7 separate regions of the Homo sapiens genome follow, and regions 1, 2, 3, 5, 6 and 7 are each linked to region 4. The links are contacts of gene promoters, found by promoter capture Hi-C in blood cells and fetal thymus (Javierre and others, 2016). All regions are on one chromosome and are shown on one strand. The core of a region is centred on a gene start or on the middle of the fragment in contact, and the rest is flanking DNA. Distances in the headings are between cores, read along the strand shown. Region 1 overlaps TRAK1 (trafficking kinesin protein 1). Region 2 overlaps TRAK1 (trafficking kinesin protein 1). Region 3 overlaps TRAK1 (trafficking kinesin protein 1). Region 4 holds the start of EIF1B (eukaryotic translation initiation factor 1B). Region 5 overlaps TRAK1 (trafficking kinesin protein 1). Region 6 overlaps TRAK1 (trafficking kinesin protein 1). Region 7 overlaps TRAK1 (trafficking kinesin protein 1).

Region 1 (3,600 bases), core at 35-2,534, 1.8 Mb before region 4:
AACCACAAAATTGGCACATAATTGAAATCTCCTTTTTGTACGTTTCCTAAACCAGTTTATTTCTGGACTTCTGTTCCTTTATTCCCTACTTTGCTACCTCTTTAAATGGGAGTATGAAAATACCAGTGGTCCCAGTAAATTCTGTCTCAAAAACCTTCTTCCCTTCATCCAAAATGGGATAGATGATAAAGGACAAGTATTTTGCTCAACATACATTCAGACAATAACAATAATTCAGAAATAAATAAATCAATATATTTACCCTTGAACAGTTGAGCCATCTCCTCTTCTATTTTCCTTTGCTCTTAGAGGAAGACAGATCAGGGTCTCTCAGGGCCAAAAGACTCAACTGAGGAAGTGCTGGGTAAGAAAATCCTTCTGATGGATACCCAGATAAGAGCAGGCCTCCGCTCACCCTCCAGATTGACCATGGCAAGCGACTGGCTTTATTTCAGGGTGTAAAGGGAACTGGATGGTGTGGCATTTGGGTCATGGTATTAGGAAACCTTCTTCCTCCACTTCTAGGATGGCATCCACAGAGCTATGGCCCCACCTGACTAATCCACGGGGCCTCTGACAGCACCCTGCTGTAACCAGTGCTCCCTAATCCAATGGTACAGTGAGGATGTATTCAATCCCTTACTTTAAAAAGTTATAGAGGGTTCAATGAGTCACAAATCACCAAGGAAACTAGAAGGAGGTCAATGATGGTTTCCAAAAAGGAGCATCTCTAGAATTTCCTTTTGGAGTTAGGTAACAGAATGGGAACTTGCTTTTAGAATGAATATATTCCAAAGAAAAAATTCACTCATCTTTTCCCCTCATGACCCTGGGAACTGCCTCCAATCCTTGTTACTCAAAATAGTTAAAGATGTACACAGAACGAACATGACAATGTCTGCATCTAAAGCTGGGGGCCAGTGAGATTGAACTGGCATAGTTTTTCCACACATTTAAATACCATCCCCTGAGAAAGCCTTAACCCACAGTCGCGGCAAAAATCAGTGGATAAGAGATAATTATGTAGTTTTTCAGTTTACTAACTAGGCCAGGTCCCAGCCTGTTACATCATTCAGGTTAATCAAATGTAGTCAGGAATAGAGCATTCTGAAACTCCCGACTCAATTAAAAAGCACTTACCTTATCTATTAATGGCTCATATAGGGCTGGGAACATATCATCACTGGGGAACAGACCCTCAAAGTGTATATATTAATTGGGCCCCTTTTTTGTGAAGGCATGTGATATGAGGGTCACTTTCAAGACAAAATTAAAGACAGATTAACTGTGTAATACACAATTTTGATGTCCAACACCCCAGGAACCTGAGACCCCGCCCACTGTGATGTCTCTGAGAACGCACCTCAGTGCTGTTTTCTGTGTGCTTGAAACCTCCTGAGACCTGTCCAGCCACACAACTTGGCCTCCACCCAGTCTCCCTTGGAATGTGCCACACCCTCCCTGCACAAACCAAGGTAGTGACAGAAGGACACATTCTTTCCCTGCCCCTCCCATCACCTCCCCACCCCCATCTCTGTTGGATCCAACAAGCAAACTTCATTTGAATCACCCGCTAAGTGGTAAGCTGCTTCTGCCTTTTCTCCAGCCTCTGATGGTTCCCAGGTCTGGGCTCAGAAAAGGGCAGAGTCTTCCAGGCCTGCTGCTGACAGTCCAGGAAGCCACCTCCTGAACACACTATTCCAAGCCCCCAGTTTCCTATCCCCTCCAACAGCAAGAGCGCAGTGAACACATTTCCACTTGCACACATTCATGCATCAACAACACACTCACGTCTCACACCAGAGAAAATTCAATCCAATAGAAGTATAACACTTACAAGCCCAGCACACCAAAAACCATCTCCCCTTCTAAGCAAACAATCATACATACTGCAGGAGTCTTTCACGGTAAAGAGCCCTGCCCACCTGCCACCTCCTCCACCATGCCTTTGGAATTGCCAGAGCCAGTGGTGCTAGTTCTGGTACCTCCCACCCGCCAGCCGCCTGTCTCCCCTAAAGGTTTCAGGACACCCCCCACCCAGAAGGAGACAATACCCCTATACATCCCGGCTCTGTTTTGCAGGGGCCATAATTACCATCCGAGCATTCTTCATAATACCAGTCTAGTTCATAATAATCCGCTTCGATAAATTTCTGCATAGTCAGTAGTCTTGCAGAGGAAAGAATGGACTTCACAGCACCATCAACGTCAAGTAAAACGCTGCCATGCCTCCCCGCCCTTCCAGAATACTGGACAGAAGAATATCCCGAAACACACCAGAATTAGGCTGTACATTCTTAACGACAGTCTGGAGCCAAAACAGTAAAGTGGGCAATGAAAAGAAAAATTCTATGGGGGAAGGAGGGAGTAGGAGGAGCAGAAAGGAAGGCAATTTGCAGAGAGCTAACGGAGACCCTGGCAGCACTGCCAATAAAGCAGCACTGGACAGCAGCCCTGAATGGGAGTAGCCAGGATCGTCCTATCCAGACGCCTAGAGGGTGACGTCAGAGACACACACCACCACTGGCTGTCTCACTCAAGCCTCGTCTCCTGCTCGCCGCTCATCTTTCAATCTAACCGTTGCCATAGAAACTGGCCGGCTCTGAAAAATGATGCAGAGATGGAGGAAATGTCTTCCAAGGATGCTGGCAGCAGAGGCTGAGAGATGCCAGGCAGGGAAAAGAAAGGGTACAGGCAAGGGAGAGACAGAGGGGTCAGCACCATCATCACCTTCAAGAAACGTAAGGACAAGCTTATTCACCCTACTTTGGGTCACGATAGAAAGAAGACTCTGGATTTGAAATCTGCCACCTTTTAAAATCTGCAAATCATTACTTTTGGTTTCCTTTCCTCAACCTGATTTCACACATTAAACATCTTCTATAATTTTTGACCACCACTTAAAGGAAATGTAAATTACTTAGAAAATGGAAACATTTTCACTTAGATGCACTACTATTCTCTGCTCATGCTTTTGCTCAAACTTCTAGAAAAACAGCCTGTCACATACAAATAGAGGAGGGCGCCATCACAAAGGGCTTGTGCAGTACAATATGCTGTTTCATGGACACGTACATGTGTAATCAAGGCGTTAAAGTGCACACTAGAAGAAAAAAGTCCACCTGCAGGAAGTTAGTTGCCTCTGGGGAAGGAGTGAGGAAATGAGGTTTTAAAACTTTCCTTATAAATGCACCCATATGTTTTATTTCCTTAAAAAATACAGTTAATATTAGTTCTAAATGTTTGATATGTTTGAAATATTCATAATAAAACAAGGTAGTGGATAATAAGACAGATTCTAGGCTATCCTATAGGTTGAATTTCATTCCCTAAAGCAGGGTCTCTCAACCTCAGCACTATTGACATTTGAGGTTAGGTAATTCTTGCTGTGGAAGGCTATTCTGGGCATCGCAGGATGTTTAACAGCAACCCTGGTGCCTACCCACTAAACGCAGGTAGCACTACCCTCCACCCCCAAGATGTGACAACCAAAAATGTCTCCAGACATTGCCAAATGTCCCCTGGATATAAAACTGCTTGGTTGAGAACCTTGCCCTAAACCAAAACTACTTATTTACTTCATTGTCCTCTTGGCCAGGT
Region 2 (3,302 bases), core at 735-3,234, 1.8 Mb before region 4:
GTGTGCCTAGGGTAGCAGCCAACATTACATCTTTGAATCACCTTTTGAACCATCTGGATTTTATTGGGTTTGATGGAGTTATGCAGGGATCCAGTTGCACTTTCTTATAATGATAACAAACACATCAGTAATAATGGTAAACACTTATGGAGTGGTACCATAAGCACTTATAAGCATTTACATCCATTAACTCATTTAATCCTCCTAAGAGTCCTAACATTTATCCCCGTTTGACATAAGAATGAATACACTACAGCACAGAGAAGTTGAATACCTAGACCCACATCACATAGCCTGTAAATAGTGAACCGGTTTTCTAACAGAGCCTGAACTCGGAGGTCAAAATCCTAACCACCACTCACGCCTGCCCCTGGCCCCAAAGATCCTGACCTCACTGATTAAATAATCCCTCCTTATAACTCTTCTTTCTCTAAATTTTCTCCTAGCCCAACTTCCAGTCTTTTGCATACTTTGAGAATTTCTTAAGCAAAGCACATAGATAAAGCTTCACTTTTTGACCCATTCTGAGACTTTGCCTTCAAACAGGAGCATTATGGTCAAATTGGGCAAGACTCATCTTACTATTGTCATGCCTCTTGGTGGTTCAACTTCTGGAGGTTTCATCACTTTGCTGTCTTTTGCATTGTAGAGTATGTGCCACCAGATTCTTTTTTCTCCTAGTGATTTAGAACAGAGCTTCCACAAGCAGTGCTGGGAATGGAGGGTGCCAGGTAGTGTCCGGGGTGACCATCAGCTAAGAACTACTTCCATCATTTACCCATCATGCTATGCAAATACCATTGTTTTCTTGTCAGGGTCATGATGTGGGTTAGGTTAGGGAATGCTAATGTTGAATGTTTGAATCTTTTTTTTTTTTTTTTTTTTTTAAAGGCAGGGTCTCACTCCTGTCACCCACGCTGGAGTGCAGTGGTACGATCACAGCTCACTGCAGCCTCAACTTCCTGGGCTCAGATGATTTTCCCACCTCAGCTTCCCAAGTAGCTAGGACTACAGGCAGGCAGCACCACACTTGGCTAATTTTTTGTATTTTTAGTAAAGATGGGGTTTCCCCATGTTGCCCAGGCTGGTCTTGAACTCCTAGCTCAAGGGATTCACTTCACTTGGCCTCCCAAAGTGCTGGGATTACAGGCTTGAGCCACTGCCCCCAGCCTGCATCATATTTTTAATTATAGTCAAGGAGACATGGTAGACACATGGTGGCCATCCGCTATCCATACTCTTCTTAGTATCAAAGCTCTGAGCCCCATGGAAAAACTACATTTCTTAGCCTCCCCTGCTGCAAAATGAGACTACAAGGCTAAGTGTTGGCCAATGAGATAAAAGCACTGGTGTGAGAGCCTTTCTCAAAGGCTGCCTTCCCTACATCCTGGAATTCAGACATGATGGCTGGAGCTTCCGCAGCCTTCTTAGATGTGACATGACCTTAAGGATGGAAACGACATCTAGTATGGTAGAACTGAAGGACAGGAAGAGCATGGAACCCTGGGGACAGCAGGGCTGCACCAGTACTGCACAGTCTCCCTCTGAACTTCTTATACTTTAGAGAAAAATAAATTCTATAATGTGAAGCCACTGTTCTATACAGCCAAACTTAATCCTTACTGATACAGATAGTTACCTTTAAAGGTACTATCTGTACAGGCAAAGAGGTTAACAGACCAAGAGGTTACAGGCTAAGAGGTTAACCTGTATTTTCCTAATTATCCACAGCAAAAATAGAATAATCTTTTTGCACTTAATCTCACCCATCTCCCTCCAACCTCTTGGGTTTTACTGTTCTAATCTGGGAGTTCAGATGAAGTTTCTTGTTTATAAATAATTAATTTCTTTTTTTTTTTTTTCTTTTTTGAAACGGAGTCTTGCTCTGTCACCAGGCTGGAGTGCAGTGGCACAATCTTGGCTCACTGCAACCTCCGCCTCCTGGGTTCAAGCAATTCCCCTGCCTCAGCCTCCCAAGTAACTGGGACTACAGGCACGCACCACCACGCCAGGCTAATTTTCGTATTTTAGTAGAGACGGGTTTCCTCATGTTGGCCACGATGATCTCAATCTCCTGACCTCATGATCCGCCCGCCTTGGCCTCCCAAAGTGCTGGGATTACAGGCATAAGGCACTGCGCCCAGCCCAAATAATTGATTTCTTAGACTTGCTTTCTGTTGTCCAAAAACATTTCTACCCAATGTTTATGATTAGACTCTGTAAGGCTTTCAAGGTAGCCTGAGCAGCTGCCAGAGTTCAAGGCCCACATCCCTCCCCCTGTCCTGACTGTCCTGTCTTCCCCTTCAAAGGTGGCTCTAACTAGGGGACAAGCAAAGTTAGCTGGCAATCAAGGGGTAAATTCTGGAAAAGTTAAGTGCCACATTAGGAAAACTTATTTTATTAATAGTACAAAATCTCATGAAATCACAATGCCAACTGTGCCTCTACCATTCAATGCATTCATCTGTTTTATTGTTAATCTAAATTATTTCCTGAACAGGAAATTCTGTTTAAAAATGAACAATGGTTACTTTTTCAAAACATCAAATGAGATCATCTGGATATTAAAAGATTTCAAACTCATCCAAAAAATATTAGTCTGACAATATGCAGTTAAGAAAAACAAATATACCCTGACAGTAAAATGATTCCACATTCACTTGAACCAATTTTCCAATAAACACAAACATAAATTCAAAATGTGGAAAATTCCAAAGGACAACCTACAAAGCAGAATACAAATAAATAAATACAACATTATAATTTTAAAAAGTAATTATTCAGGTGATAGAGTCACTATACACAAGACTCCAGTGCACATAAAGTGTCTATTTTGTTATTATTATATTTTTATTTTTTATCTTAAATAAAGAAGAGGTCTCACTATGTTGCCCAGGCTGGTCTCAAACTCTTCTTGTTGAATTGATCCCTTTACCATTATGTAATGGCCTTCTTTGTCTCTTTTGATCTTTTTTGGTTTAAAGTCTGTTTTATCAGAGACTAGGATTGCAACCCCTGCTTTTTTTTTGTTTTGTTTTCCATTTGCTTGGTAGATCTTCCTCCATCCTTTTATTTTGAGCCTATGTGTGTCTCTGCACGTGAGATGGGTCTCCTGAATACAGCACACTGATGGGTCTTGACTCTTTATCCAATTTGCCAGTCTGTGTCTTTTAATTGGGGCATTTAGGCCATTTACATTTAAGGTTAATATTGTTATGTGTGAATTTGATCCTGTCATTATGATGTTAGCTGGTTATTTTGCTCGTTAGTTGATGCAGTTTCTTCCTAGCATTGATGGTCTT
Region 3 (3,645 bases), core at 158-2,657, 1.8 Mb before region 4:
ACTGCTTATCCTACCAGGTATCAGCTCTGCAGCCCATCAGAATGACTGGTTTGCTGCTGCAGTGATATTTGGACTCTCCAAACATCCAGCTTAGTGAGCTTTCACACAACAGTTATCAGCCTTGGTACACATATTTTGCTATGTCACATAAATGAGAAGCCTGGATATTCCCAATATCTTTGGTTTTAAATTTAGACAAACACCTTCCCAGTGAGTTTCTAAGGATTTGTATTTTTGGTAAGAAATAGAAATAGGAACATTTTCAAATTCTTCTGTACAGTCAAAAAAAAAAAAAAGTTGGCTCCCACCTATAATCCCAGCACTTTCGGAGGCCAAGGTGGGTGGGTGGCTTAAGGTCAGGAGTGCTCAGGTTGGTCAGCCTGGCCAACATGGTGAAACCCTGTCTCTACTAAAAATACAAAAATTAGCCGGGCATGGTGGTGCGCGCCTGTAGCCCCAGCTACTCGGGAGGCTGAAGCAGGAGAATCGTTTGAACCCAGGAGGCAGAGGTTGTAGTGAGCCGAGATCACACCATTGCACTCCAGCCTGGGCAAGAGAGCTAGACTCCATCTCAAAAAAATAAATACATAAAAAGTTGGTTCAAATGAAAATCTTACTTGGTCCTCACTCCTCTAAAATTTCTATTCAGAACATTTAAAATTGGGACCTTTTGTGCGGTTAACCCCTACAGCCGCATTTCTTTGACTACCTTTCCAGAGGTGGCAAGCCACATCACAGGGTAGCCAGTACAAGATCTTATTTGGGGCCATGGCTAAGAAGACCTGATCATGATACTGCCATCACAACACACATGGACAACTACTTACGGAAGTATTTTAACGTCTCTTCAATTTGCTCGGTTGTGAGGTCAATGTTGGCATCTGGAGAAATGAGAGGTGTATGGAGCCAGTCGTCGTGGTCATAACCGTAGATGGTGTCGGCTCTTAACTTATAATGGGGCAGCTGCTCCTCCAGCAGGCTAATGATCTCGACTTCCGGAAGATCGGTGCTGTTGCACACATCTAAAGACAAGACAACCAAGAAATGAGAGCCCAGAAATGGCTATGGCCTTGCTGCTAGTTAACTAAACTTGTAGCCTGCGGCAGGTATCTTCGGTTATTTATCTACAGCACAAAGAAGCTAGACAAGGCTATATCAGGAGTCTTTTTCCAATTTAAATTCTAGTCTCAAAACTTTGAATTGTGCATGCTTACGGCCAAGACCTACCCAAATGTTTCCTGCTGTTTAGTGTCCACTATTTAGGAAGAAAAGCCAAAATTTTTGAGCTTTTATCATCTGAGTTAAGTCTTTCCTCCAACCCTTTCTCTGGCCATTCTCCTTCAAGCGTTCTACATGTCAGCCAAACCAGTATTAATTTCACCAGTATGCCTAACTTCTTCATGCCACTCTTTTACCATTGAAGCTATCCTCCTATCTAGAATTTTGCCTTCATTTAATTTATTCATTCATCTGTTCATTCATCCACACTTCCTTCCTTCCATCGATCCATCCATTTGAATCCTGAGTACCACGGGCAAAGGAGACACAGTGGTGAACACAAGAGTCATGGTCCTGCCCTTGAAACACTTATATCCTTATGGGGCATCCAGCAATCACACCAATAGGTGCCCATCCTTTAAGGAATAGCTTGGTGTTTTGAGCACACCAAGCAGAATTAATCTCTCTTACCCTTTCTATACTGACATGCCATTTTGTCAGAACTTCAGTTACTACACTTATTAAGTGTCTTGTGGGTATTTCAGTGTCTGATTCATCTTGTTGGGAGAGGGCAAACTTCCATACACAGCTACCCTTGATCCACCACCTGTACCCCATAGCTCTTGGCCCAGGCTGTGCTCAGGGGGTGCATACTAATGCCTGTGACGGAGAACCAATTCACACAAAGCACATTAATGCAGGCCTTTAAAATGCAAACATGACAACATGGCAAACATAACCAGGATATGTACCCTACTTCTCTATCCCAGTGCTTACTCATCAAAGCAGAACACAGAGACTGAATTAAATAAGTGCTAATGGGTGAGTGGTAATTATCTATCAACTAATTCTGGCATCATCCACTGTATCAGCCTATTTGCATAAGGCATTCCCTATGATGGGAAACAGCCCATGGGAACAGCAGTGGTTTTGTCAACCCATAAATAAACCAAGTGCCTGTGGTGCACACAACTAGACAGGAGAGGAGAGTTAACTTGGTATTTTGTTCTAGGAATGACTCTTCAACAAAGAAAAATTATTCAAAAGATAAGAATATTACTGAGGTTGATTCTTTTTTTTTTTTTTAAGACAGTGTCTCACTCTGTTGCCCAGGCTGGAATGCAGTGGCACAATATTGGCTCACTGCAGCCTTGACCTCCGATCCTCAAGCATTCCTCCCACCTTGGCCTCCCGAGTAGCCAGGACCACTGATGTGCACCATCAAACCCAGCTAATTTTATTTTTTGTAGAGACAAGGTCCCTATGTTGCCCAGGTGGGTCTCGAACTCCTGGGCTCACGCAATCCTCCTGCCTTGGCCCCCCAAAGTGCTGGGATTACAGGCATGAGAAATCTTGCTGGGCCTGAAGTCAATTCTTATCAAAGTCACAGTACCAAGTTCTCGCTTTGAAGTAGAAAACAAAAATAAGAACCTGGATCAAGTGGAGGACCAAACTCACTCTTCAGTCTCCATCCCTCTCCAAGATATTAGAAGGGGCAGAGGAGAGAAAAAAAAAAAATACTTGTGACAAATAAAACCACACAATAGCAGGGAAAATAAAGAGGAGATGCTGAGGACGAACCAAAAGTATGAGGTATTCCTAAACACGGTAAGATAAAATTAAAGGAGAAAGGCCCAGTCTTACATATGAGCATTCACTCGCACATGCGTGCATGTCTGCACACACACAGGAAATGACTGGTGCAGTCAGTGGGAGTAGATCCTGGGGTGCTCCACACGGGAGGCTACTGTCACAGGAAGCAGGAAGGGCCAGGGCCAGGGATTCACTGCAGGGCCAGGGCCAGGGATTCACTGCAGAACCAAAGCAGGAACAGCAGGGAGAACCAGTCCCTTCCCTGTTCCCCCTGCTTGAGCCAAGGCCAGGAAGGCAGGAAGGCAGAAAGGCAGTAACTGTGGGGCCTGTACACACTCAGGTAGAACATGGAACACCTCTGCCTGGAAGAAGAGCAATGCCAGAGACTTTGTGTCAAATAAGAAGGCCATTCAACAGGTGAAAAAAATACGGATTCGTGAGAAAAGAGAACGTAGAGTTATGACTCATCACCCTTTGGGCAGGAGCCCACTGAGAACACCTGTCAGCACCCACCCCTCCCGCAGCTTCCTACCATTCCGTACTAACTGCTCTCCCTCAATTCAATATGCAAAGCTTTGCCATAGAGCATTTCCACTCAGGAAGTCAGCATGGTTTTCCAAAATGTCAAGGAAAGGGTTAAAAATGAGAAAGTGAGGACATTCAGAATTTTAGTTGGAGCTTTAGTCCTGGAGGGGGGACTCTATCTCACTGCTGGGACTTCTCTGCCTCATGGGGGAAATGTCACAGCAAGCATACTTGGTATTTCAGCCAGCCAAAAACAAGACCAGACCTGCTCCGTCACTTTGCAAAGCTCTGCTGGGAACAGAAGCTATG
Region 4 (3,511 bases), core at 459-2,958:
TTCACCGTATGAACAGAATTAGCCATTTCAGTAAGCTAGATCATATTTAGAGAAACAGATTTTGTCTCCTATAATCCACAATCCTTCCAAATTAATTTGTAAACCAGGAAATGATTTTATGTGTAACATCAAGAACTAAATATTTCACATTTAAATTTATTTAAAAGCAACGCGAATCTTCTTTTAAAATGAGAGACCACACTGGGAGAATAACTAAATATTTACATGTTAATTACAAAAATGAGAACAACTTTCTTGGTCTAGTTATTTTCATCCACGCCGATATAAAGGTGTGAATCATAATCCAGTTCAGAGGTGTGCATCAGTAACTCTAATCCTTTCTTCCTAATCCCTTTACCTTTTTGAAAGCTTTCACAAGTTTCTTTTTGTCATAATCATCTGCAATGCCCTGAACAGTAGTCAGTGTCTTTCTGCCGTTCCGTTGCTGGATTCTTATATGAATGTAATCCTCAGTCCCTGCCGGGAGTAAGTCGTCACCCTTAGTTGCATCAGCAAAGGGGTCTGCGAATGGATAAAAAAAAAAAAAAAATCCAAAGTAGAAAAATATTTTTTAAGAAGTACTTTCCAGAAATACATTATACTACCAATCCAGACAGTCATCAATGAAGGTTCTAGTGCCTTTGCTGTTTTTGCCGGTAGGAATGGAGATGGGGGTGGAGTATTAATAAAACCCCCAAGATACTCTCACAAAAAGAGAAACATTTGAACAGCTATGTCCATTGTAGAAAAACGCTGTTATAGATAAATAATGTTATCGTTCAATATGGTCCTCTAATGAGAAAAAGATTTAGAAAACCTTAATATTGTAGCCGCTATAAAAATGTGCGTCATCTCGATTACATTCTGATGAAAACATAAACATTCGAATACGCCCACCTTAATCATTTAACCGTAACTGTGCCTTGCCAAAAAAAAAGTAGATTACATATATATCAAGAGGCGTAATTTAACAAATTGCTACGCAAGCAGAGAAGACTGAACCACTGGCCAGTGACAGATCAGAGGCTTGCATCCGCATCTTTCCCTAAGTGCCCCCAGGAGCTGCCAGAGAACGGGCGCCGATCCCTGGTTTCCCTGGCCCGGCATACCCTTTGCAAGTAGCAGGGCCGATCTAGGAGTCCACGAAATAGGATCGCCAAGGTTTCAAGGGGCAGAAGCGGAGGCGAGAGCCGGGTCAAGGACGGGGCAGGGGGTGGCGCAGGGCCCGCGGCCGGGGCTCCGAGAGGAGGGCTCGGAGTCCGGCGCTGTCCTCGGGGAAGGGGTCGCCAGGGGCCCCGTCGCCATTTTCTGGGCGCCGAGACAAAGCCCCACTAGGGGTGCGGGAAGGGCAGAAAGGGGGCCCCTAGGGGCGGTGGCCAGGCGGGCAAAAGGCCGAGATGCGCGCCGGGCAAGGGAGGGAGGCGGCGGCGACGGGATCTTACCGAAAGATTGGAGGTTCTGGATAGTGGACATGCGATACTAGTGTGAGGCCGGTGAGGGGATAAAATTCCTGCGGGGCCCGCCCGGATCACCTTGTCAGGAGGCTGTAGTGGCGAGAAAACGGAAATAAATAAGAAAACGCTTCGCCCTGGGGTTGGGATTAGGCTGGAGTGGCGGCGGCGGAAGCCGGGAGGAGGCAGGAAGAGGCGAAGGAGGAGGCGGAGGAAGAGGCGAGGGCGCGAGAGAAGAGGCGGCGCTGCGGCTTCTCGCACAAAATGGCCGATGGAGACTATTTAGCCGCGCCCGCGGCCCCTCCCACGTGACCGTCCCGCGCCGAGCATCCTGGGACTTGTAGTTTTCTGGAGGCAGCAGAGCCCGGAAAGCCTGAGGCCGGGGGCGGCCGAGACCGCAATTCCCGTCACGGAGTGCGTCCTCTAGCGCGGGGCGGAAGACCCGCGAAGTGTTCAAGCGGCCGCAGAGCGGCCCAGAGTTCGCAGGTCTGGGGCTCTCTTCCCAGAGAGCTCGTAGGGGAGGACAGTCAAGGGACTCAAGCGTCTCTCTTGACTCCCCTTCTCTCGCTGTGCAGTGGCGGCGCCGAGGGGTCGACGCTCAGGGCTAATCTCTATGAGTCACCCTCGAGGCCCCGGGTAATGTAAGTAAAATCGGGGTGCAGGAACAAAACAAGTCCCCTTGCTCCGGCTTTCAACTCATTGGCCCCCGCTCAGCAACTACCTGCATTGAAATTCCAACCCCAGTTGCAGGAGCGGTGTTAGTCTCAACCAATACTGGAGATGGGAGCCTCTCTTTCCAGGATTGGACGGACCTCCGATTCCCTAGCACGGTGGATCTCAGACTAAAGCGTGTGTCTCTGGAGGGCTTGAGAAAACACTGATAGACCCCAGAGTTTCTGTTTCAGGAAGTCTAGGGTGTGACCTGAAAATCTGCAATTCTCATAAGCTCCTTGGTGATGCTGATCCTGCCTGCTGGTCTGGGATCAGGCTTGAGAATCACTGCCCAGCTTAATCCTGGGCCTGGCATCGAGTGGGGGCCAGGTGTGTATGAACAGAAGATACCAGAAAATCAGCTTGTCAGCTCATTTTGTGTGCCTCAGAAGGCCCAACAGAGAATTCAGGAAAGATGCCAGGTATAAGCTGAAGGTGAGCTCAGCAAATAGGTTAATTGATGGAGTCATGTACCAGACCGTAATATCTTCCTATCAGGTCACGCACAGAAAAATAAACCCGAGACTTTGGGAATTGGCTCACTCAGGCAGGTGTGTTCAATTGTCAAACTTGGTTGGCTTTCTGGAAGCAAAGAGATAGACTAAAATTTAGGGATTCTTAACTTTTTTGTGTGTGCCATGGCAATCCTGTGAAGCTGCTGAATCCCTTCTCAGAATAATGAGAAGTTAAGTTTTAAGTTCACAAAGTACATAGGATTACAAAGGAAACCAATTATATTGAAATTTAAAAAATACATTAATAACGTGTATTTCTTTATTAATACACTAATAAGATCTAGCAAGATTAGGTCTAATACTATAATTTCAAAAAGCTGATAAATGTAAGAGATATTTTGTGATGTCCGTAACATCAGAAATTTAATATGAAAGTATGTGTAACTTCTGTTGGTGCGAAGTGACAGGTCCTTCTATCACTATGATGTTGCCTTTATTCATAATGGAAAGAAATGGTAAATTTTGCTTAGAGGTTAATGAAAATGCAGATATAATCTTTCCCCATCCAATTTTAGGGATCTCCACCCCTGCAGTTTTATCCATGAGCCAAGGATCTGCAGACCGCAGGTTAAGAATACCTGGATTTGACAATCTTTTGTAATTAACAATGATGATAAGTGCCATTTATTTAGTACTTACTGTTTGCCTGTTACAAAGCTTATATATAACATTATTAATCTTCATAGCTATTTTATAAGGTAAGCATTACTCTATGCACCAGGTGTGGAAATGAAGGCTTTTGTAGGTTAATGCCTGAAAAAAAAATCAAATTCTTAACTCTCAGAAATCTAACCACATTTGTGGTCTTCCAGCTCTGGTTCAAATGGAAAACAC
Region 5 (3,380 bases), core at 839-3,338, 1.9 Mb before region 4:
GAAATAAATTCGTGTCCAGAACCACTCCCGCCAGGGGTCTTTTTTAGTGGGGTTGAGGTGGGGTGAGGACTAAGGTGGGATGAATATCTGCACACAGACTAAGTAAATTCAGTCCCTGTAAACATCTCCCTGAAGAACCTTTAGGAAGAAACCTGTAGGTTGCTGTTCCTGGCTACCAGAAGGATAATGGGGTTAAGGCATGTTTCTCTCTTCTCTTGAAGGAAAAGAGCCCAGACCCCAACTCTGAACAAAACCTGCTCTGATCAAGGAGCTTCCTGTCTGTCTGTTCCAACTGGTCCGGAAGAATCAATTTTATTAAGTCAGAGGAAAAGGATGCACAAAGTAGACAATGGTGTGTGTGTGTGTGTGTGTGTGTGTGTGTGTGTGTGTGTGTGTGTGTCCGTCTGTCCGTCCGTCCGTCCGTCCGTCCAGGTTCTGCAGGGCTTCAGGACAAAGAGGAACTGACCATTCCTGAGGAAAGCCCAGTCCTGGGCACCTTGGCCCCCCTGCACCCCACCCTCTGAACCTTGTGACCACATTCTGGTCACAAGACAGACAGCCTGAGTCCTCCTCAGCCTTTCCAACATCAAGCTACAAAACGGTCACAAAACAAATGTCTATTCTGTAGCCTTACCGTGAAGATTAACAAAAAAAAAAATATTCATTAATCCTTCCCCCAAGCATTTCACAGGAAAGCAGACTTTCTGGTATCATCTTGTTATACATCTTTAAGCTGATTAAAATATCATATCAAGGATAGGCATAGGCTCAAGTGGGTAAGCAGAACAGATTTGGAGAACTGTAAGGTCCGCTTTTTTTTTTTGAGACAGAGTCTCACTCTGTCACCCAGACAGGAGTGCAGTGGTGCAATTATCAGCTTGCTGCAACCTCCACCTCCCGGGTTCAAGCGATTCTCCTGCCTCAGCCTCCTGAGTAGCTGAGATTACAGGTGCATGCCACCATGCCCAGCTAATTTTTTGTATGTTTAGTAGACATGGGATTTTGCAATGTTGCCCAGGCTGGTCTCAAACTCCTGAGCTCAGGCAATCCTCCCGCCTCGGTCTCCGAAAGTGCTAGGATTATAGGCGCGAGCCACCACGCCCGGCCAGGTCTGTATTTTTCAGGTGACTCTCATCTACCTCCCTCTTAATAATTACTGAGCCTGCAGACAATCCATACTACCACTCCTCACCCCAAAACAGAGAAGTGAAAACTCCCAGCTTGCTCACCCCAGGTCGGCTGCCTCTGTTTCCAGAATGATGCTGTTGGTCTTGTTGTCGAGGACGACGTTGCCTATGTCGCTGCCGTAGAAGCTGGACCGGGGGGTGCTGACGCAGCTGGACAGGAGGGAGTTCATGGCCGAGGACTGGTTGGAGCCGGGGATGTTCATGGGAGAAGGGGTCAGAGATCTCTGCTTGACAACCTGGTTGATGTTTCTTACTGTCTCAAAGACACGCTTCTGGTGACTAGGGAGAATGCACGGCATCCGTGAGTGAGCAAATGCGGGCACAACCCTGGAGTTTAACCCTCCAAAAATGATCAACTGAGCCAAAAGGGCACCTGGCCTATGACGAGTCCCCCAGCAGCCTGCTATCCTGTGCCTGCCACCTGTTTCTTAGGGTATTGGCTGCCTCCTTCACAATGCGAAATTTGAGAGATTCAACACCCACTAAACCCAGGACTCGAACGCATGGTTGTATCCTAAAGGTGATGCCAGCAAGAGTGAAATTGTGTTTCACATCCCTAAAGCTTAACCCACAAATAAAAATACTTAAGTATGACTTTTGTCTCCTAGATTTCTTTTTTCATAATATTCACTAGAATAAACGCTGCAGCAGGGCAGTGTTTACTGCTCAGCGCAGCAGAAATCAATCAATACTTGTAGAATGGATATTTGTTGAACATTCATATAAAAAAAGGAAGACTTCAAGTTAGTCTTTCACTTCTATAATAAGATGATAAATACTAGATTTGTCTAATTTTGGAAAGTGTTATTTTAGGAGCAGAACCACTTTGATGCTCATTTGTTCCCTTTTAAAGAGAAAAGGGTAGGCATGTTTTTACAATGGCCACTTCCTTCTGGGCTGCAGAGGGTGTCACACATATACCAAACCTCACTTGGACACTTGCCACTCCCAGGATCTCATTTAAGTTCTGTCTATGGAGTCTGAGTACACAGAAAACACAATGAAACCTGGTCCACATGTTCCTTACAAACACCTTGGGGCAGGTTAAGTACAAGAGTTGAGGTAGGAAGACAGATGGTAGAAGCTCATATCCCTAGGTGTATTCAGATGGAGATGGAAGCCTTGCACAAAATCTTTGAAGACCCCTCTGAATCTCACACTACGTTGATTTTAAATTTTTTAAATGTTTTCCACTGAAAGGAAAGATAAAAACGTGTAGCTATATCAAGACAAAGCTTGTGTTAAGAGAGATGGGAAAGACATCTCTCCTTTTCTAGGACTTTCTGGAAGTTCACAATTTGTCTTTAAAACCTAAGAAGAAGAGGAGCACAGTGGCTCACAGGCCAGTGGTGGCTCACGCCTGTAATCCCAACACTTTGGGAAGGCCAAGGCAGGACGATCACTTGAAGCCAGGAGTTTGAGATCAGCCTGAGCAACATGGTGAAGCCCTATGTCTACAAAAGATTTTTTTAAATTAGCTGGAAATGGTGGCATGCGCCTGTAGTCCTAGCTACTCAAGAGGCTGAGGCAGCAGTATTACTTGAGCCTAGGAGTTCGAGGCTGCAGTGAGCTATGATCACACCACTGCACTCTGGCGTGCCCAATAAAGTGAGACACCCCATCTCTAAAAAATAAATAAATAAAAATTAACACTAACAAAAGATAATAAGAGGAGCTGAGGGATGCTGTCAGCTGTGTTCTATTATTTCCCTTAATCTGGACTGGGAAGGACAATAGTCAATCACTGTCGGTACCCAGAGCCTCAACATTGCTAGGTTTTGAACACTGCACTGGTCCAAGTTGGTCTCTGGGAATCTCAAAACTGTAAAAACTGTGGCCGTACGTGATGTCTGGAGACTCGGCCTCTTCCAACTGCAGCTCCTTGCGCATCGTTCCCTCAATCTCTGCTGCCAAGGAATCCTGGGAAAAGCCAGAAAGACAAATGTCAAGTGAGCGCCAATTCAAATGCTCTGTCTCTAAAAGAGGTATGCACCCAGGTGGGCCATGGAGAGTAAACCAAGGCATCAGAAGCTCACGGTCTTCCCACAACACAAACTTAACAGCACTCTCTGTTGTCAGAGACCCTGGCTGAGCAGTTTCCCAGGCAGGTTCTGAGTGTGGCAGTGCCACTGGGCACTGAGTGTAAAGCTGCTGACTCATATGCCATTAGGTGTCTAAAAGCAAACCCTATGC
Region 6 (3,287 bases), core at 442-2,941, 1.9 Mb before region 4:
TCAGTAACTCCATCCATAAATAAAAGAACTCTGTGCTCTACTGACAAACTTGGGGGCAAAAAATCCAACAGACTTTAGCCATAGGGCCTGGGTAGTGTCAACTTCAGCTGGTTAAGGAGCGGCCTAGGAATCCATTTCTAACTAAATAGCCAACTAAAAGGGCAACTAAAGGTGGGTCGGTCCAGGTCTCTTTATTTGAGCCAGATCCAAATAAATAATAGCCTCAACTCAAAAGGAAAGATGGGCTTGAACCCAGGAGGTGGAGGTTGCAGTGAGCCGAGATCACGCCACTACACTCCAGCCTGGGCAACAGAGCAAAACTCTGCCTCAAAAAAAAAAAAAAAAAAAAAAAAAAACACATAACAACAACAAAAGGAAGGATGGGACCCAGAACAAGTGCCTGCAAATGCTGAGATGCTTACACTGGCTTCAGTTGGTTTTTCTATGAGCCTCTCTACTTGGCTTTCCTCAACATTAAGCCTTGCAGGGAAGGGAGTGCCCTGACTTCACCCCACCCCTGCCCACCCCAAAGCCAGGGTCCCTTACCTTGGTGTGACCCGAGTGAGCTCATCTGAAGGATGCAGGATGCGACAGGTGGTGAAGGTGAAGGTGGAGTTGGTCTGAGACATGCACTTCCCAGGATGGTGCGCTAAATTGGGAGGAACAAAACATATTCCTTGCATCCAAGTACAACCACAATAAAAATTAAAATCCAGCATGTCACTCAACAGATGCAAGAAGTGATGAGCTACCTTGTTAACTGGATCTGGGCGAGGAAGGTGAAACGCAAATGTTCTGGATTGAAGGCGAGTCCTCAAAAATAACCACAATTTTGAGCACTGGTCTGCAGAGCACCAAATTCCAGCTTCCGACCCAATCCAGACTAGGTTTCTCATCAGTATTCTTGGGCCAGTAGTGGATCCAGTCTGGGGGTGGGAGGCGAGGGGGGTGGGGTAATGGGCCTTTGTGGGATAAATTTGGTTTCCCTCCTCAGGTCAGAACCTGCTGTCTTCTTTTGCTGCTTTACATTTCTTTGCATTGGCAACAGCTACCAAAGCTCTGCTCAGAGGAAGGGGAGAAGTACAGGCAGGGAGAGGCACTTGAAACCTGCAAACAGGGCAAGGCTCACAGCTCCCTTTCTGCTTACACAAAAAGGGGCCTGGGGATGCTGGCTCCACTACTGTCTATTTGTGATTGTTATGGTGGGAGATGGGGACTTCAGCTGCCTCAGCAACAACGTGGCAAGAGTTCCAGAGATCAGGGCTCTCTAGGGTCCTGAGCTCCAGGATCAGGTCTGGTCTGACACACAGCAGTGTGAGCAGGACAGGTCCCCATACCCCCTAGCTGCTAGCTGCTTTCTTGACATCTCTAAGATGTCTGATTTCTAATGAAAATGGGATGGCAACAAGTTGTTCTCAATTTACTTCCTTTTAATGTTCTAACAAGTTATTGCTGAGGTGGCTGAAGACTATGGTCTGCAGCAGATTAAATCATGGAAGTGTTAGGACCATGCATGAGAAAGCTGGCAAAGGAACAAGGAACAGAGTCTATGGGAGACATCATGATTGCAGAGGTCATCCTCATTCATAACTCAAGCATCAGGAAAAAAAATAATAATAAAATAAAAAAAAAAGATGCTGCCCGAAATAGCATGCACGATGAAGTGCCGGGATGATTCTCCCACCCAACCCCACCCCACCCTCTGCCCCTGTAGCAGCTCAGCCCCCAGAGACCTCCTGGGAGAAAACTGATTCAGATTTCAGAGGCCATGAGGATTCAAAGGCCATGAAGATTCAAAAGGCTGTGAACTAGAATCTTCTAGCTCCTTATGGTATATTTTCTCTTGGATTTGACAAAAAGGAAAACAATGGAATTGGTTGCTGCCCCAAACCTACAGGTCCACACAGTTGACTATGTCTTAAAAGAAAACCAGGAACCCGATGACACAAACAAAAAAATAAATGCTGGAGACACAGATTAAAGGTAGGCAGGACAAATCCAGAGTACAAAAGTGATGGTGACTAGAGGAACAAGGCAAGATGGTTTGCCCTGATTTTTAAGGTCTGACTCGGGTCTGTGTGTCAAAGCAGGCTCCCATGGCACCTGACGTGACAGCCAGCACCACGGCCACAGGAGAAAACTCTCAGCCATGGGGAGCTCCAGGCAAAGCAGGAGGGAAGGAAAAAAAAAACACATAAAAATAGCCTTTATGAATCTTTCTCAATCAGTGAACATAATGGCTCAGGAACTCCAATAAGTAAGAAACTGCCACAAGCAAAACAAAAATGGAGTAAGCTATGAAGAGAAGGCAACCAAACAATCACGATTCTCTTCCCGCAATAAGGTCTAGAAACAAAAATAACAAAAAGCCTGGGAAGAGCATCCCAAATAACAGGCATGAGGGGTTATTTGGGAAGGAGGAGAGGGGGAAAGCAGTAAATAGAAATAAGACAACACAGTTGAAAGAGAGATAACATTTAAAAGAAATCAAACAAGGGAAGGCTGGATTTAAAATCAGAAGCATACCCCCATTTAAACATATGGCCAGAATATCAAATCAAAAGGTCACAAATGTTCACTTCCTCCTCCACCCTCTTACATATTGGATCTTCAATTGCAATAGGGAGTGTAAGATGGACATTTTAGAGACGTAGTTGCATCAGCAGAAGCAAACCCATCTTATACAAATGGGTTTTGGGGATAGGAAAAGGCTGCTAAAAATTCACAAGTCACCATTCCCCAGAAGCAATGAATAGCCGTAGAAGACCAAGGAAGATCAACAAGTTTCCAAAGTGCTAAAGCCAGAGATTTGGCCCTTCCAAAATACCACCAGGACGCCTGGACCCGTGGGCTCTCCGCATGTCACCACTGACTGCCAGGATGCTGCTGCACCTCCCTTCCTTGAGACACAACAGAGAGACAGTGAGTCACCCAAGACTGGGATCATCAGAGGCTCCTCATGCTTGCTACAGAGAAGCAACGGGCTGATTCCTAAAGCCCTGGGTGCAGGAAGAGAGCAAGTTCTAAAAAAAAAAAAAAAAAAAAGAGAGAGAGAGAGAAACATAAAACATCCTTCTTGGCAGGAAATAGGGGGGTTGGGTGAGGGCTCACTGTGAAGTCACCAAGCCCATGCCACGCACCAAAGCCCCCTTCTTTATCTAAACAGAAAGTTCTTTGCAGAAGATGGTATTATGTGTTCATCCCATGCTGCTCATTTGGGAGCTCAAAGGATAGAGTTTCTTGGATTTAAGGCTTTAATTCCCTATTTAAATTCTTATTCTTTCTCT
Region 7 (3,723 bases), core at 776-3,275, 1.9 Mb before region 4:
AGCACTTTGGCTCCCTCTTGCAGGATGATGGTCTCTCTCCTCCAGGCCTTCCACAGTCCCCAAACTGGCAATGCTGTCACCACAGTCCCACAAGCCAGCCAGGTATCACAGTATCAAAAATGAGCTGTAAATAGGCCAGGCACAGTGGCTCTCACCCGTAATCCCGGCACTTTGGGATCACTTGAGGTCAGGAGTTTGAGACCAGCCTGGCCAACATGGCAAAACCCCGTCTCTGCTAAAAATACAAAAATTGGCTGGGTGTGGTGGCGGGAGCCAGTAATCCCAGCGACTCGGGAGGCTGAGGCAGGAGAATCACTTGAACCCAGGAGGCGGGGCTCACTCACCCCACTGCACTACAGCCTGAGTGTCTGAGAGAGACTCTGTCTCAAAAAAAGAAAAAAAAAAAAAAAGAGAGAGTTGCAAATCCCCCAACTCGTTCCCACAATTTGTGCCTCCCCATCATGACCTTGCCTTTCTGGGAACACAGTACATGTGGAGACGGCCCTCTCACGGGGCAAAGGGGACACGGTGCATCTGCCCCATCAACAGAGATGCTCATCTCTGCACATTTATCCACACTGGTCAGTGTCTACCAAGAAGTTCCCTTGGCCGGGTGCAGTGGCTCATGCCTGTAATCCCAGCACTTTGGAAGGCCAAGGCAGGAGGATCTCCTGAGCACAGGAGTTCAAGACCAGCCTGGGCAACACAGGAGACCCCATCTCAAAACACAAAATTGAAAAAAAAAAAAAAAAAGGTACCTTATTTCATGGCCCTTTGTCATTTCTCAGACTCAACAGCTGTGCTTATTAGGTACCTAGAGGAAAGGATTCAAAGAACTGTGTGAGGGAGACTGCACAGAATTAAAGTCTCCAGAGGCTGACTGAAAATTAGCACCTAGTCCAAGTGGTTTCAGGTGGATTTGGTTAAAACTGCAATACCAATGTTCACTTCTCTTTGGAAGTATAGTCTCCAAAAATCTAACTCAAGTCTACCTAATGTCTCTACTAGAACTAGTTCTCAGACTGAACACTCAGCAGTTGCTTCATCAGTGCTCCTCAGCTCACTACCTGACTACCTGGTCTGCATTGCCTTCATGCATCCAGGCTGCCAAGTTCCAACAAGCGCTGATATTTTGCATGCCTTCGCCACATTTTTTGTTGGTTTTTGATATGGAGTCTCGATCTGTCGCCCAGGCTGGAGTGCAGTGGCATGATCTCAGCTCACTGCAACCTCCGCTACCTAGGTTCTAGTGATTCTCCTGCCTCAGCCTCCCAAGTAGCTGGGACTACAGGCACACGCCACCTCGCCCAGCTAATTTTTGTATTTTTGGTAGAAATGGCGTTTCACCATGTAGGCCAGGCTAGTATCGGACTCCTGACCTCAAGTAATCTGCCCACCTCAGCCTCCCAAAGTGCTGGGATTACAGGCGTGAGCCACTGCGCCCGGCCTTTAGCCGCATTTTGTACGCACATTTCAATGCAAACAAATCAAGCACACAGCATAATAATGAAGATGGCTCAGGCATGGCAAGGGACTGCCAGAGCACCTGAAGGATGCGGAAGGCTTCCAGCACACAAACGGCCAGAAACCAACAGGAATTGGGAGACAGGAAGGGAAAGAGAAACAAGTAGAGCAATGAGCTCAACAATGAAGTCCTTTGTCCTACCTGTCACACCTCAAACCCTGCACCTAAGGGCTGCCTCGCCTCTTCTTGCCCCACTAAGGACAAACACTTCCCTGGTCTATACCAGAAATGTAATCTTTAGAGTAATTTTAAAGAACACTCTCTGCCAGAAGAAAAAGCAAGAAGTCACAGCAAATTGTATAAAAATATACTTAGAATAAGATCTAGTATCTGATAGCACAATAGGGTGGTTACAATTAACAATAATTTATTGCACATTGAAAAATACCTACAAGTATAATTGGAATGTTTGTAACACAAAGGAATGATACATGCTTGAAGTGATGATATCCCTTTCTTTCTCCACCCTCCACCTTTTTTTCCTTTTTCTTTTTTTTTTTTTTTTTTGAGACAGGTCTCACTCTATCGCCTAGGCCGGAGTGCAGTGGCACAATTACAGCTCACCATAGCCTCAAACTCCTGGGCTCAAGCAACCCTCCCACTTCACTTTCTGAGTAGCTAGGACCACAGGCATGCACCACCATGCCTATCTAATTTTTGGAATGCAGGTTTGGGCAAAGTTTTCCTCTTCTTCAGTTACAGCGTCTAACTTTTTGTAGAGACAGGGTCTCACTATGCTACCCAGGCTGGTCTCAAACTTCTGGCCTCAAGCAATCCTCCCACCTCAGCCTCCCAAAGTGTCTGGATTACAGGTGTGAGCCACGTTGCTCAGCCTGATACCCTATTTACCCTGATGTGATTATTATGCAGCATATGCCTTTATCAAAGTATCTCATGTACCCCATAAATATATATACCTACTATGTACTTAAAAAATTGAAAATAAAAAGTTACATTAAAAATATTTATAGATAAAATGAAAATTTAAACAGAAACGTTATTGTAGTGTCTCTAGTTTTTTCTCTTTAATTTTACTGAGGCAACAAGCTGGTTGGGTTTTTCTTTGAGAATTATAAGAATGAAAAAAACCTCCCATTTCTCTAGCCAAAATATGATTAATGTTTACTTCTAAAAACAAGAAAACAGGTTGGGCGTGGCAGCTTATGTCTGTAATCCCAACACTTTGGGAGCCCAAGGTGGGAGAATCAGGAGTTTGAGAAGGCCAGGAGTTTAAGACCAGCCTGGGCAACATAGTGAGACACCATCCCTACCAAAAAAAAAGGATAAAAACAAGAAAACAGCTAGAAGATGGCCACTGGATTAAACTACAATGAGAAAAAGAGACCACAAACAAGTAATTTAGGCCCTTGGAAATAAGGTATTAAAAGAACTAGTTCCTTTATTCCCCCAAGAAATGAGGCAAGGTAGAGCTCATTCTAACTGCCTGCTCCCTCTCCTCACTATGCTTTAAAAGCATAGACTTAAAAAAGACTGTAACTTGAGTCTCAGCCCCTTTTTACCAATGAACTCTTGCACTGACTGACACACCCACTAGAGATTCCAAACAGCCTGCCGCCTACACTTAGCAACTGACTCATCTCATTCACCAATTTCAGGATAAAAAGCATGACTAAGGGGCCAGTGGAATCACCCTCTCTGTAACCGAGGAGGAGGCAAGCTCTGCCCAAAGGTGCATTCCAGACAGCAGCAAGCCCAGGTGAGCCACAGCATCCTCTTCCCCTTAAAACCAGAAGCGAACTCTCCACGCTGGTGGAAGGCTGTGCTTTGGGATCCTGTGCGAATCCCCCATTTGCCTGCCTGTGGCAGGCATGGAAATCATAGCAAGAGAACAGAAGAAACAGAGCCAAAGCCCAGGAAAACCACCGCACAGTGCAACAGCCACATGACTGGGACAGTTAGACTTTAACCAGGACACCCTCCTAGTTCCAAGGAAAGGCAGTAACTCAGGCATGAATCTTATCAGGACAGGAACAGAATGGCATTAGACATGGAACACAAAGACATAAACAGACGCTGTTGCCATGAAGACCCTTTAAAAATAAAACAGGCTGGGTACGGTGGTTCATGCCTATAATCCCAGCACTTTGGGAGGTCAAGGTGAGAGAATTTTTTAATTTAAAAATGTGAGAGATTCAAATAAACAGTGGCTGTAGTTTGCTTCTAATTTTGTTTTGTTT

The links. Contacts are between HindIII fragments. The CHiCAGO score rates a contact against its expected background, and 5 or more counts as called.
Region 1: a contact is called between a fragment that was not itself captured here and the fragment with the promoter of EIF1B in region 4, in 7 of 17 cell types (activated CD4 T cells, total B cells, naive CD8 T cells and 4 more). The highest score is 9.1, in activated CD4 T cells.
Region 2: a contact is called between a fragment that was not itself captured here and the fragment with the promoter of EIF1B in region 4, in 2 of 17 cell types (monocytes and naive B cells). The highest score is 5.6, in monocytes.
Region 3: a fragment that was not itself captured here is called in contact with the fragment with the promoter of EIF1B in region 4 in 2 of 17 cell types (total B cells and naive B cells); the score reaches 8.9 in total B cells.
Region 5: a contact is called between a fragment that was not itself captured here and the fragment with the promoter of EIF1B in region 4, in 7 of 17 cell types (total B cells, M0 macrophages, total CD8 T cells and 4 more). The highest score is 9.2, in total B cells.
Region 6: a contact is called between a fragment that was not itself captured here and the fragment with the promoter of EIF1B in region 4, in 8 of 17 cell types (naive CD8 T cells, total B cells, fetal thymus and 5 more). The highest score is 13.7, in naive CD8 T cells.
Region 7: a contact is called between a fragment that was not itself captured here and the fragment with the promoter of EIF1B in region 4, in 3 of 17 cell types (non-activated CD4 T cells, monocytes and M2 macrophages). The highest score is 6.4, in non-activated CD4 T cells.

Annotation. Positions count from the first base shown.
Region 1 is chr3:42,148,095-42,151,694 of GRCh38, reverse strand. All of the region lies in intron 2 of TRAK1 (trafficking kinesin protein 1), which reads right to left. Among named protein-coding and RNA genes, the nearest start is that of TRAK1, 59 kb to the right of the region's middle. RefSeq lists an enhancer at 1-75. The HindIII fragment of the contact is 2,941 bases long and covers 1-2,754 here.
Region 2 is chr3:42,106,078-42,109,379 of GRCh38, reverse strand. All of the region lies in intron 1 of TRAK1 (trafficking kinesin protein 1), which reads right to left. LOC124906231 (a long non-coding RNA gene) reads right to left here. Exons shown (of 2, transcript XR_007095889.1): 2 at 38-3,302. Among named protein-coding and RNA genes, the nearest start is that of TRAK1, 16 kb to the right of the region's middle. The HindIII fragment of the contact is 2,953 bases long and covers 508-3,302 here.
Region 3 is chr3:42,122,797-42,126,441 of GRCh38, reverse strand. TRAK1 (trafficking kinesin protein 1) reads right to left here. Exons shown (of 16, transcript NM_001042646.3): 2 at 828-1,022. Among named protein-coding and RNA genes, the nearest start is that of TRAK1, 33 kb to the right of the region's middle. RefSeq lists enhancers at 2,813-2,912, 3,093-3,362, 3,483-3,645. The HindIII fragment of the contact is 3,959 bases long and covers 1-3,386 here.
Region 4 is chr3:40,307,904-40,311,414 of GRCh38, reverse strand. It overlaps EIF1B (eukaryotic translation initiation factor 1B), which reads right to left and starts at 1,708. Exons shown (of 4, transcript NM_005875.3): 1 at 1,443-1,708; 2 at 359-522. The coding sequence starts at 1,473. It overlaps EIF1B-AS1 (EIF1B antisense RNA 1), which reads left to right and starts at 1,717. Exons shown (of 3, transcript NR_033965.1): 1 at 1,717-2,092. It overlaps LOC124906228 (a long non-coding RNA gene), which reads left to right and starts at 2,604. Exons shown (of 2, transcript XR_007095876.1): 1 at 2,604-3,511. RefSeq lists a silencer at 1,298-1,347 and an enhancer at 1,618-1,977. The HindIII fragment of the contact is 2,965 bases long and covers 372-3,336 here.
Region 5 is chr3:42,198,904-42,202,283 of GRCh38, reverse strand. It overlaps TRAK1 (trafficking kinesin protein 1), which reads right to left. Exons shown (of 16, transcript NM_001042646.3): 11 at 3,031-3,107; 12 at 1,230-1,466. Among named protein-coding and RNA genes, the nearest start is that of CCK, 66 kb to the left of the region's middle. The HindIII fragment of the contact is 673 bases long and covers 1,752-2,424 here.
Region 6 is chr3:42,216,856-42,220,142 of GRCh38, reverse strand. It overlaps TRAK1 (trafficking kinesin protein 1), which reads right to left. Exons shown (of 16, transcript NM_001042646.3): 15 at 547-649. Among named protein-coding and RNA genes, the nearest start is that of CCK, 48 kb to the left of the region's middle. The HindIII fragment of the contact is 4,951 bases long and covers 1-3,287 here.
Region 7 is chr3:42,178,987-42,182,709 of GRCh38, reverse strand. The region is part of intron 3 of TRAK1 (trafficking kinesin protein 1); the gene reads right to left. Among named protein-coding and RNA genes, the nearest start is that of CCK, 85 kb to the left of the region's middle. The HindIII fragment of the contact is 9,746 bases long and covers 1-3,723 here.